Linked DNA regions of Homo sapiens: all the other regions are linked to region 1. The links are contacts of gene promoters, found by promoter capture Hi-C in blood cells and fetal thymus (Javierre and others, 2016). All regions are on one chromosome and are shown on one strand. The core of a region is centred on a gene start or on the middle of the fragment in contact, and the rest is flanking DNA. Distances in the headings are between cores, read along the strand shown. Region 1 holds the start of RAB13 (RAB13, member RAS oncogene family). Region 2 overlaps HAX1 (HCLS1 associated protein X-1). Region 3 holds the start of SNORA58B (small nucleolar RNA, H/ACA box 58B).

Region 1 (3,279 bases), core at 420-2,919:
GTAGGAGGTAAATGGGGAAGTCTGGCGAGGCATCCCAGAGGACTGACTTACCAGACTTGTAGTTTGATCTTCTTCCCCTCTATATCCACAGTGCGGATCTTGAAATCAATTCCTAGGGGTGGAAGGTATGCACTGAAGTTGAGACATGCATGCACACATGTAAAACTGTGTGATGGAAGGGACAGGAACGGAGCAGTGCTGGCACCAGAAATTCTGCAGGGGAGGCACTTGGGGAACAATCTTGTTGGAAATGCCAAGCTAGGAGAATTTTCCCAAAGCTGTATTTGTATAGCAAGAATACTATTTTTACGTACATTTTATGGATTTTGGGAGGGAAAAGGTGACGAAAATTCTGCATGGAGGCTTAAAATCCTTAGGCTGCCTCTTGGGTCCATTCAGTTATACCAGCTGACAACTCTCTGAATTCAGTCTCTGTCTCCCCCCAGATATTACTTTCACATTCCTCTTCTCTGTTTTCTTAGAGCCCTCTACTCTTGGTATCCCACCTACCCTCCTAGTAGAGAGTAAGGAAAAAAGTAGCTGAAGCCAGTCTATGTGAATTAACTAGTGGGCCAAACTTGGCACTAGGAAAGTCTGAGGCTAAACAGGATTACTTTTGAGACAATTAGGAAAGAGGGGCATTTTTCCTTTTCCTTTGTAACCAGAATTGTCGTGAGACTCTTCCTGTCTATTTCCCAAGCCAGAGGAGATGAAGAAAGAAGAGAAGGGAGGAGGGGAGACAATGTTCTTCTTAGTAGAAACTTGGGCACCTCCCCCAAGCCTGCTGGGGGCCCCTGGGAGGAGGATGAGTCACCAGGCTGACTCAGAGACCCCAAAAGTCCCCTCATTTCCACGTTCCTCACCAAGCTGGCTGCATATTCATGATCACAGTCCTTGGGCCACCCTCCAGCACACCCAGCCACCTTGTTCCACCCTTCCCAAACCCTTGTTCAGCTGAGGTGCAGGGAGACTGGGGCAGGGAACCTGGGAAGTAGATGGTGAGGTGGGGACACAGTGGGAGAGTTTGAAGCTCAGCAAGACAGAAAGAGGCTAGCATCGGATCGGGAGAAAAAGATGTGGCGGACAGGGATACAGGAAACATGGAGATAGGATCGAGAGAGTTCTAGGTGGTGGGGGTAGGGGAAGAGGGGAACAGAGAAAAATAGAGAAGAGTTCTTGTGGATTTGGGGAGACTAAGGCGATGGTACCAAGAAAATGAGGAGCTGGCAGCAGTTGAAGAGTTACCTGAAGGCCTCAGAGAGGTGAGAGGTTTGGTTACTATACAGAGACATGCACGGGGGAAGGGTCAGAGCCAGGGGTTGAGGGACTAGAATTTAGGAGCCTTACTCTAAGGGGACTGAAAAGTGGGGTCACTAGTAATCCGGGAGCCGGAGAAGGAGGTCACAGGAGAGTCGGGGTCTGGGACATGGCCAGCGGGCTCACCGATGGTGGAGATGTAAGTGTTGTTGAAGTTGTCCTCTGCAAAGCGAATGATCAGACAAGTCTTGCCCACCCCCGAGTCCCCGATCAGCAGCAACTTGAAGAGGTGGTCGTAGGCTTTGGCCATGGCGGACACCGGGGGAGCCGGGGGAGGGGTGGGGAGCGCCCGGCACTGGTAGGCGGGACTGGACGGTTGGCAAACAGAGCGGCACGGAGCCCAGGCCAGGAAGAAGTTTTCCTCCCTCTCCGCCCAGGCTCCGGGAAAGAGGAGAGGCGGCACCCCTCCGGGCTCCACCCCCTGCCCGCCCACCCTTTTGAGCAGGCCAAGGCTGCCAGCCCGGCCTCTGTTCTCTCGGTTTTCCCTTCCTAGCTTAGGCCGGCCTGTCTCTCTCGCTATTTTCCACAGCCTTTCGGTAATTGTAGCTCCCCTCTTAGGACCTTACTCTTCCATTCTGAGGCCAGAGAGGCTGGGGTGAAGGGAAGTAGAGGTTTAACCACGACGACCAGAAATTTTAGAAGAGAAATTTTAGAGGGATTAGGGGAAGAGAACCAAGAGTTTTGGGAATAAGGGTGAAGGTAGGGAGAGCACTAGAAATTGAAAAAAAAAAATGGGGCTGAGTTTTGGAGATGCTATTCAACGAAGCTAGAAGATGAGTTATCATCGGTTTCTGGGGCTGAGTAAAAGGCAGTCCTAGAATTTTACTGTTAGTTGTCCAAGCCCTTAGTTCTATGGGTCCCAATTCACTTTGAAAAAAGCGGGATGCGCAGAAGTAGGTTATTTGTTGAGTCAGTCTGCCCCCTGGTGGAACAGGGTGAAAACGTAAATTAGTTATACAGAATCGGCCCCACCACCCCAACACACACAGCCTACCTAGACACATCCTGGGGCTTCAGTTGGAACGATCTCTCTTATGGGGACCCATGTGTGATTTCTCTGACCAAATAGCTTAGGAAAACAGAGATTTGAACTAAAAATGTCATTCTTTACGTGAATCTTTTAATATGGCCCACTTAAGGTGCAGTACTCCTGAAATCTCACTCAATAGGCCATGAATGTGTAGCCTTGGTAACCAGGAAGCTGAAATATGAACAGCACGGGTATAAAGAAACAAGTTTGCCGGGCGCGGTGGCTCACGCCTGTAATCCCAGCACTTTGGGAGGCCGAGGCGGGCGGATCACGAGGTCAGGAGATCGAGACCATCCTGGCTAACATGGTGAAACCCCATCTCTACTAAAAATACACACACACACACAAAATTAGCCGGGCGTGGTGGCAGGCGACTGTAGTCCTAGCCACTTGGGAGGCTGAGGCAGGAGAATGGCGTGAACCCGGGAGGCAGAGCTTGCAGTGAGCCGAGATTGCGCCACTGCACTCCAGCTTGGGCGACAGAGCCAGACTCCGTCTCAAAAAAAAAAAAAAAAGAAAGAAAGAAAGAGAGTAAAAGAGAAACAAGTTTATCTCTGCCTTTAGAAAAAAATTATTCTTGCTATATGTGTGCTGGGGGTGGAAAAAAATACGAAACACGAAAGAAAGAAAATATTATCTAAGACCTGTTGCGGTGGCTCACACTTGTAATCCCAGCACTTTGGGAGGCCAACGTGAGAGGATCCCTTAAGCCCAGGAGTTCAAGACCAGCTTGGGCAACATAGTGAGACTGCTTCGACAAAAAAAAAAAAAAAAAAAAAAAAAAATTAGCCATACATGGTGGTGTGGCCTGTAGTCCCAGCCGCAGCTACTTGGGGGACAGAAGTGGGCAGAACACTTGAGCCCAAGAGTCCAAGGCTGTAGTGAGCCACGATTATGATGCCACTGCTCTCCAGCCTCGGTGATAGAGTAAG
Region 2 (3,279 bases), core at 556-3,055, 290 kb after region 1:
GTCTTGGCCCGGTTCTACAGCCCCAGCCCAAATCCTATTTCAAGAGCATCTCTGTGACCAAGATCACTAAACCAGATGGGGTGAGTTGAAAGAAAGAGGTAAAGGAAAGTATGGCCAGGGAACGAATGCCCTGAAACAGGGATCTGTGTAAAGAAACTGCTGAGCATAACCTTTAGTAACATTCGGAATATGGTGGGGACTTCTCTTTGTAGATAGTGGAGGAGCGCCGGACTGTGGTGGACAGTGAGGGCCGGACAGAGACTACAGTAACCCGACACGAAGCAGATAGCAGTCCTAGGGGTGGTAAGTTAAAAGACAAAGGGGTTCATCTCAAGATTCCTTGGGGAAGGGAAATCTTACTCTTCTACCCTTGTCCTTTGCTTCTGCCTAGTCTCTTTCATTTAGCCTATTTACGTGTATGACTTTCTTCCTTAGATCCAGAATCACCAAGACCTCCAGCCCTGGATGATGCCTTTTCCATCCTGGACTTATTCCTGGGACGTTGGTTCCGGTCCCGGTAGCCTTGTTAACCCTCAGAGGCCTTCAAGTCCTTTCCACCTCTCACCCATTGCCCACCATTAATAAGCTTAGCTTCTCTTGCCACCTCAGGGGCTTGGATATGTGGAATAGTGAACTGGGGCCATGTCAGTTTGTCACTCACCCAAACTGACCAATAAAACCTTTATTTATGCTAATTTTTTGTCTTGGTTTTGTCAAGGCTATTTCAGTTTCTAGAACCATCCAACACTTCCGAAATTATCTTGGTCCTCTGCCTTCTCCTTATTCCTTAATTTTTTATTCTGCATCTAAAACCTGATTTCATAAGTAAGGGTCAGGCACAAGTAGAAAATGATTTTTCTTTCTCAAGCAAGAAAAAAAAAAAAAGAGGCCGGGCTCGTTGGCTCATGCCTGTAATCCCAGCACTTTGGGAGGCTGAGACAGGCAGATAACCTGAGGTCAGGAGTTCAAGACCAGCCTGGCCAATGTGGTGAAACTCTGTCTCTACTAAAAATACAAAAATTAGCTGGGCATGGTGGCGGGTGCCTGTAATCCCAGGCTAGGGCAGGAGAATCGCTTGAACCTGGTAGGAGGAGGTTGCAATGAGCCGAGATCACGCCATTGCACTCCAGCGTGGGCGACAAGAGTGAAACTCCATCTCAAAAAAAAAAAAAAAAAAAAAAAAGAAAAGAAAAGAAAAAGAAAAATGATTTTTCTTACTGAGGAGATGACTAGAAATAATTTCAGGAAAATTTCTAGAGAGGGATACATCAGATTCCCAAAAAAAGGGTGTGGGTGTGGAAGTAGGGGTTAACTGCTTCCCTGAGTGTGGGATCACTGACTGGAGAGTTCATGAAGTAACTGGGGAAGCACATGGGTAAATTTCCCTTACTTTACTGGCCTTAAAAAGTTGTTATGTGGCTGGGTGTGGTGGCTCACGCCTGTAATCCCAGCACTTTGGGAGGCCGAGGCAGATGGATCACATGAAGTCAGGAGTTCGAGATTAGCCTGACCAATACGGTGAAACCCTGTCTCTACTAAAAATACAAAAATTAGCCAGATGTGGTGGCACATGTTTGTAATCCCAGCTACTTGGGAGGCTGAGGTAGGAGAATTGCTGGAACTCAGGAGGTGGAGGTTGCAGTGAGCCATGATCATGCCATTGCACTCCAGCTTGAGCAACAAGAACGAAATTCCATCTCAAAAAATTGTTATGTATGTTAGAGAAAATACACCTGGCACAAACGTTACTAGGTCCTTTTTTCTTTTTGAGGCAGGGTCTCATTCTGTCACACAGGCTGGAGTGTAGGGGGCGATGTTGGCCCACTGTAGCCTCGACCTGGGCTCAGTCCTCCCACCTCAGCCTCCTGAGTAGCTGGGACTACAGGCGTACACCACCATGCCTAGCTAATTTTTTTTCTCGTTTTTTTTCCTTTTATTATTATTATTATTTTGTATTTTTTGTAGAGACGGAGTTTTGCCATGTTGCCCAGGCTTCCTTTTCTCATTATAAAAGTTTTTAACCAGGTGTGTTAGACTGTACCTATCATCCTAGCTACTTGGGAGGCTGAGATAGGAGGATTACTTGAGCCCAGGAGGCGGAGGCAACATAGCAAGATCCTATTTCTAAAATATATATATATATATATATATATTTTTTTTTTTTTTTTTTTTTTTGAGATGGACTCTCGCTTTGTCACCCAGGCTGGAGTGCAGTGGCGCAATCTCGGCTCACTGCAACCTCTGCCTCCCGCGTTCAAGTGATTCTCCTGCCTCAGCCTCCCGAGTAGCTGGGACTACAGGCACGTGCTACCACGCCCAGCTAATTTTTGTATTTTTAGTAGAGACAGGGTTTCACCATGTTGGCCAAGCTGGTCTCGATCTCTTGACCTTGTGATCCGCCTGCCTCAGCCTCCCAAAGTGCTGGGATTACAGGCGTAAGCCACCACGCCCCGCAAAATATTTTTTAAAAATTGGCTGAGCAGGCTGGGCATCGTTGCTCACACCTATAATCCCAGCACTTTGGGAGGCTGAGGCGGGTGGATCACTTGAGGTCAGGAGTTCAAGCAGGCTGGGCACTGTGGTTCACACTTGTAATCCCAACACTTTGGGAGGCCAAGGTGGGCAGATCACTTGACGTCAGGAGTTCGAGACCAGCCTGGCCAACATGGTGAAACCCCAACTCTACTAAAAATACAAAAATCAGCTGGGTGTGGTAGTGCACACTTGTAATCCCAGCTACTTAGGAGGCTGAGGCGGGAGGATCATTTGAACCCAGGGGGTGGAAGTTGCAGTGAGCTGAGATTGTGCTGCTGCACTCCAGCCTGGTTGACAGAGCGAGACTCCATCTCAAAAAACATAAATAAATAAATTAGCTGAGCATGGTGGCCCACATCTGTAGTCTCAGCTATTCAGGAGGCTAAAACAGGAGGATCCCTGGAGGCTGGAGTTCGAGGCTGCGGTGATCTATGATCACACCACTGCATTCCAGCCTGGGCGACAGAGTGAGACCCAATCACAACAACAAAAGCTTTTAGTACTGTGGTTAAGAGGGGCAAATCTGGGGCCAGTCACAGTGGCTCACACCTGTAATCTCAGCACTTTGGGAAGCTGAGCGGAGAGGATCAATTGAGACCAGCCTGGGCAACATAGGGAAACCCTGTCTCTACAAAAAAATTTAAAAATTAGCTGGGCATGGTGGTGCATGCCTGTAGTCCCAGCTACTCAGGGGTCTGAGGTGGGACGTTGTCGAGCCCATGAGGTCAAGGATGCAGTGAGCCA
Region 3 (3,279 bases), core at 217-2,716, 270 kb after region 1:
TTGCAGTTTTGGAAAAAATACTAAACTGAGGCCAACCCATCTATTGTGTATCTGCTTTGGTTTATGGTGCACACATGTATGCATGTGTGTGTGTGCGTACAATGTGTATGTATATGTGTGATGAGAATATCTGCCCTGTTTGAAACACAGCTTCTGGGCCTCAGAAGCCAAAGGCCAGAATGTTCATCTGGAATCCTTTTTGGTTTCTTAGATAATTATGACTATTATTTTATTTTTTGAGGCAGATCTTGCTCTTTTACCCAGGTTGGAGTACAGTGGAACGATCATAGCTAGCTCACTGCAGCCTTGAACTCCTGGGCTCAAGCAATCCTCTCACCTCAGACTCCCCAAGTAGCTAGGACTACAGGTGTGCATCCCCATGCCTGGCTAAGTTTTAAAAATTTTTTTAGAGACAGGGTCTTCCTATGTTGCCTAGGCTGGTCTCAAAATCCCAGGTTCAGACAGTCCTCCTGCCTCAGCCTCTCAAATAACTGGGGTTATATATAGGCCTGAGCCACTACTCCTGGCCCCAAGAATTATTTTCTCTGATTTGATTAAATCCCTAACTCTGAGTGTGTTTGCTGGTCTGGCCTGGTTAGAGGAAAGTTTCCTGACTCAATCTGGGACTTTGAGAATAAGTGGCTGACATTAGTAGCTTTTTGCCCTAGTGTATCTTCTGTGACCTTCAAGTATTTGGTACCTATTAAGATGAAGGATATATGGAAACGTTTTAGAAGATACCTGTTCCTGCCCTCATAGACAAAGTCTAGATAAATTTCATACCGATGACACATCCAAATAACACAGTTACACATTTTTAATTTGTGGTCACTACCTTAAAACCCTGACATTGGAGAAAAGTGAAGTATTCTTTCCAGAGGAGATTATTTTTAAGCCAGATTTTGAAGAGTATAAGAGACAGAGACTTGTAGAATAGAGAGTAAAACTGGTTGTTCGTGTATGTTTTGTGTCTACTCTATTGGTATCAAGAAGCCAGCCTACTAGAATCAGTAGTATTTAGCTCAAGGAAAGCTTCAAGACCTTTCATGAATCATTTAATCTCTGTGTACTTTACTGCTTTTTCCTTAAATAAAATTGAAGGAAATAATCCGTGTCCTGTTCTAACCCAGAATGAGGATGAATGTTCTGTTGAATTAGCTTGTCTCTTGGCTCCTTGTTTTGCTAACATCATGACCAGTTCCTGTTATTGCTATATGTCTGTATCTTTCAGCCACAAGTATATGGTTATGATGACTTGCAGATGCTTCAGACAAGATTTCCATTGGTGAGTATGTGGGATAGAGCTTTGGAAAAGAAAGTAGTCTTAAAATTAGTGTTGGGAGAATTATCTCCGTCACAGACATAGCTCTTTCCCATCCCAGCCCTCCATACACTCTGATTTAAGGCATATTAGAATATAGGGATTTGGGGGAGGGTTTCCAACAGAAGATAACTTTTTTTTTTGAGACAGAGTCTTTCTCTGTCGCTCAAGCTGGAGTGCAGTGGTGTGATCTTGGCTCATTGCAACCTCCGCCGCCTGGGTTAAAGCAATTGTCTGCCTCAGCCTTCCGAGTAGCTGGGATTAAAGGTGCCCACCACCACCCCCAGCTAATTTTTTTTGTATTTTTAGTAGAGGCGGGGTTTCACCATCTTGGCCAAGCTGGTCTTGAACTCCTGACCTTATGATCCACCCGCCTCTGCCTCCCTAAGTGCTGAGCTTATAGGCATGAGCCGCCGCACCCAGCCTTTTTTTTTTCTTTTTTTAAATCAGAGTTGTGGCATCTTAGTAAATACATTTTAACCTATTCTATAGCCCAGTAAAGTACTCTGGAGCACTCAGGGTGCTTTCTGTTTGTCCCAGACACTTTAAATTATCGAATGATCTGTTTTCTCAGTAGAATAAGCTTGGTATAAACTGATAGGGATGACACCTAGAGGGTTGAAAATATTGGTCCTCGTGGACTTTGATGTATTCTCAAGTGGGCATACCCGTAGACCTTGTCTGACTGTGCTCATGGCCAGGCAGGGGGGACAGTGTATGCAAGAGTAATGTGGAGTTTGTGCTAACTCTAGCCAGCTTAATTAGTGACTGGATAAATTGCACAACTCTCACATTCTTCTGTTTTTTCCTCCGTGGAAATAGTACTCATGCTGGGGAATGAGTGACATTGAATCTCTGCTCTTTTTTCCCCTCTTTTCTAGGATTACTACAGCATCCCATTTCCCACACCCACTACTCCGCTGACTGGGAGGGATGGTAGCCTGGCCAGCAACCCTTATTCTGGTAGGATTGGGATGGGACTAAATAAATAAAAAGGGAGATAGTGTTGGGATTGATGGCAGACACCTGATTGGTAGCAAGAAGGGATGTGATAAATCAGGATTGGTAGATTCAAAATCCTGCTAAAGTTGGGCATGTCATGGCTTTTCCTATTCATCCCACTTTGTGTTGTCTCCCTGTGATTTCTAGATGATATCTTAGCCAGGCATGGTAGCACACACTTGTAGTCTCAGCTACTTGGGAGGCCAAGGTGGGAGAATTGCTTGAGCCCAGGAGTTCAAGACCAGCCTGGGCAACATAGCAAGACCCCATCTCCAAAAAAAGTGATATCTTGACTTAGTTTCAAGCCATTTGCTAGCTTTTTCCAGGAAATACAGTGGTTGAGGTGGTCTTCTCTGCTCATCTCTGCCCCTTTATGCTACTACTCACAGTGGCAATCTCACTGCCTTGCCACTCCTTCTTTTACCTGACCTATCATTGTCCTCATTGACTTACCGTTTTCCCTGATCCATCGTTGTCCTTCAAGTCCAGCATGGGGTATTCCCCATGGAGGAGAAGAGGGGAGGGAAGAAGAGGGAAGATGAAAGAGAACACAAGTGGGCAGAGAAATTGTGCAGGTGCCTTATTCCAAGAGCCTCCTGCCATAGCATTGCACAGTTATTCAACATTAGTCCTTGACTTGCAGCAACTGTGCTAAGTGTATGCTGAGCAACAATAATTGGAGCCACTAAGAAATGTAATTCAAGGAATTGAACTTTAATAGTCTTTGAACAGGATCTCCTGGAATCATGTGAAATCAGAAGAGGTAATTCTGTATTGGTATTGGGGTGAAAGAGGCAGGTACATTTAGCTTCTCCTGTCACAGGTGACCTCACAAAGTTCGGCCGTGGGGATGCCTCCTCCCCAGCCCCGGCCACAACCTTGGCCCAACCCCAACAGAACCAGACGCAGACTCACCATACCACGCAGCAGACATTCCTGAACCCGGCGCTGCCTCC

Evidence for each region. Contacts are between HindIII fragments. The CHiCAGO score rates a contact against its expected background, and 5 or more counts as called.
Region 2: a contact is called between a fragment that was not itself captured here and the fragment with the promoter of RAB13 in region 1, in 1 of 17 cell types (fetal thymus). The highest score is 5.0, in fetal thymus.
Region 3: a contact is called between a fragment that was not itself captured here and the fragment with the promoter of RAB13 in region 1, in 3 of 17 cell types (naive CD8 T cells, naive CD4 T cells and naive B cells). The highest score is 6.3, in naive CD8 T cells.

What each region holds. Positions count from the first base shown.
Region 1 is chr1:153,984,670-153,987,948 of GRCh38, forward strand. RAB13 (RAB13, member RAS oncogene family) reads right to left here and starts at 1,670. Exons shown (of 8, transcript NM_002870.5): 1 at 1,444-1,670; 2 at 52-112. The coding sequence starts at 1,567. RefSeq lists enhancers at 729-958, 1,272-1,773 and a silencer at 1,585-1,754. The HindIII fragment of the contact is 17,219 bases long and covers 1-3,279 here.
Region 2 is chr1:154,275,181-154,278,459 of GRCh38, forward strand. It overlaps HAX1 (HCLS1 associated protein X-1), which reads left to right. Exons shown (of 7, transcript NM_006118.4): 5 at 1-80; 6 at 213-303; 7 at 436-695. The coding sequence ends at 521. Among named protein-coding and RNA genes, the nearest start is that of HAX1, 4.2 kb to the left of the region's middle. The HindIII fragment of the contact is 2,442 bases long and covers 585-3,026 here.
Region 3 is chr1:154,257,746-154,261,024 of GRCh38, forward strand. It overlaps UBAP2L (ubiquitin associated protein 2 like), which reads left to right. Exons shown (of 27, transcript NM_014847.4): 21 at 1,232-1,285; 22 at 2,203-2,284; 23 at 3,147-3,279. It overlaps SNORA58B (small nucleolar RNA, H/ACA box 58B), which reads left to right and starts at 1,982; the gene lies at 1,982-2,117. The HindIII fragment of the contact is 872 bases long and covers 1,031-1,902 here.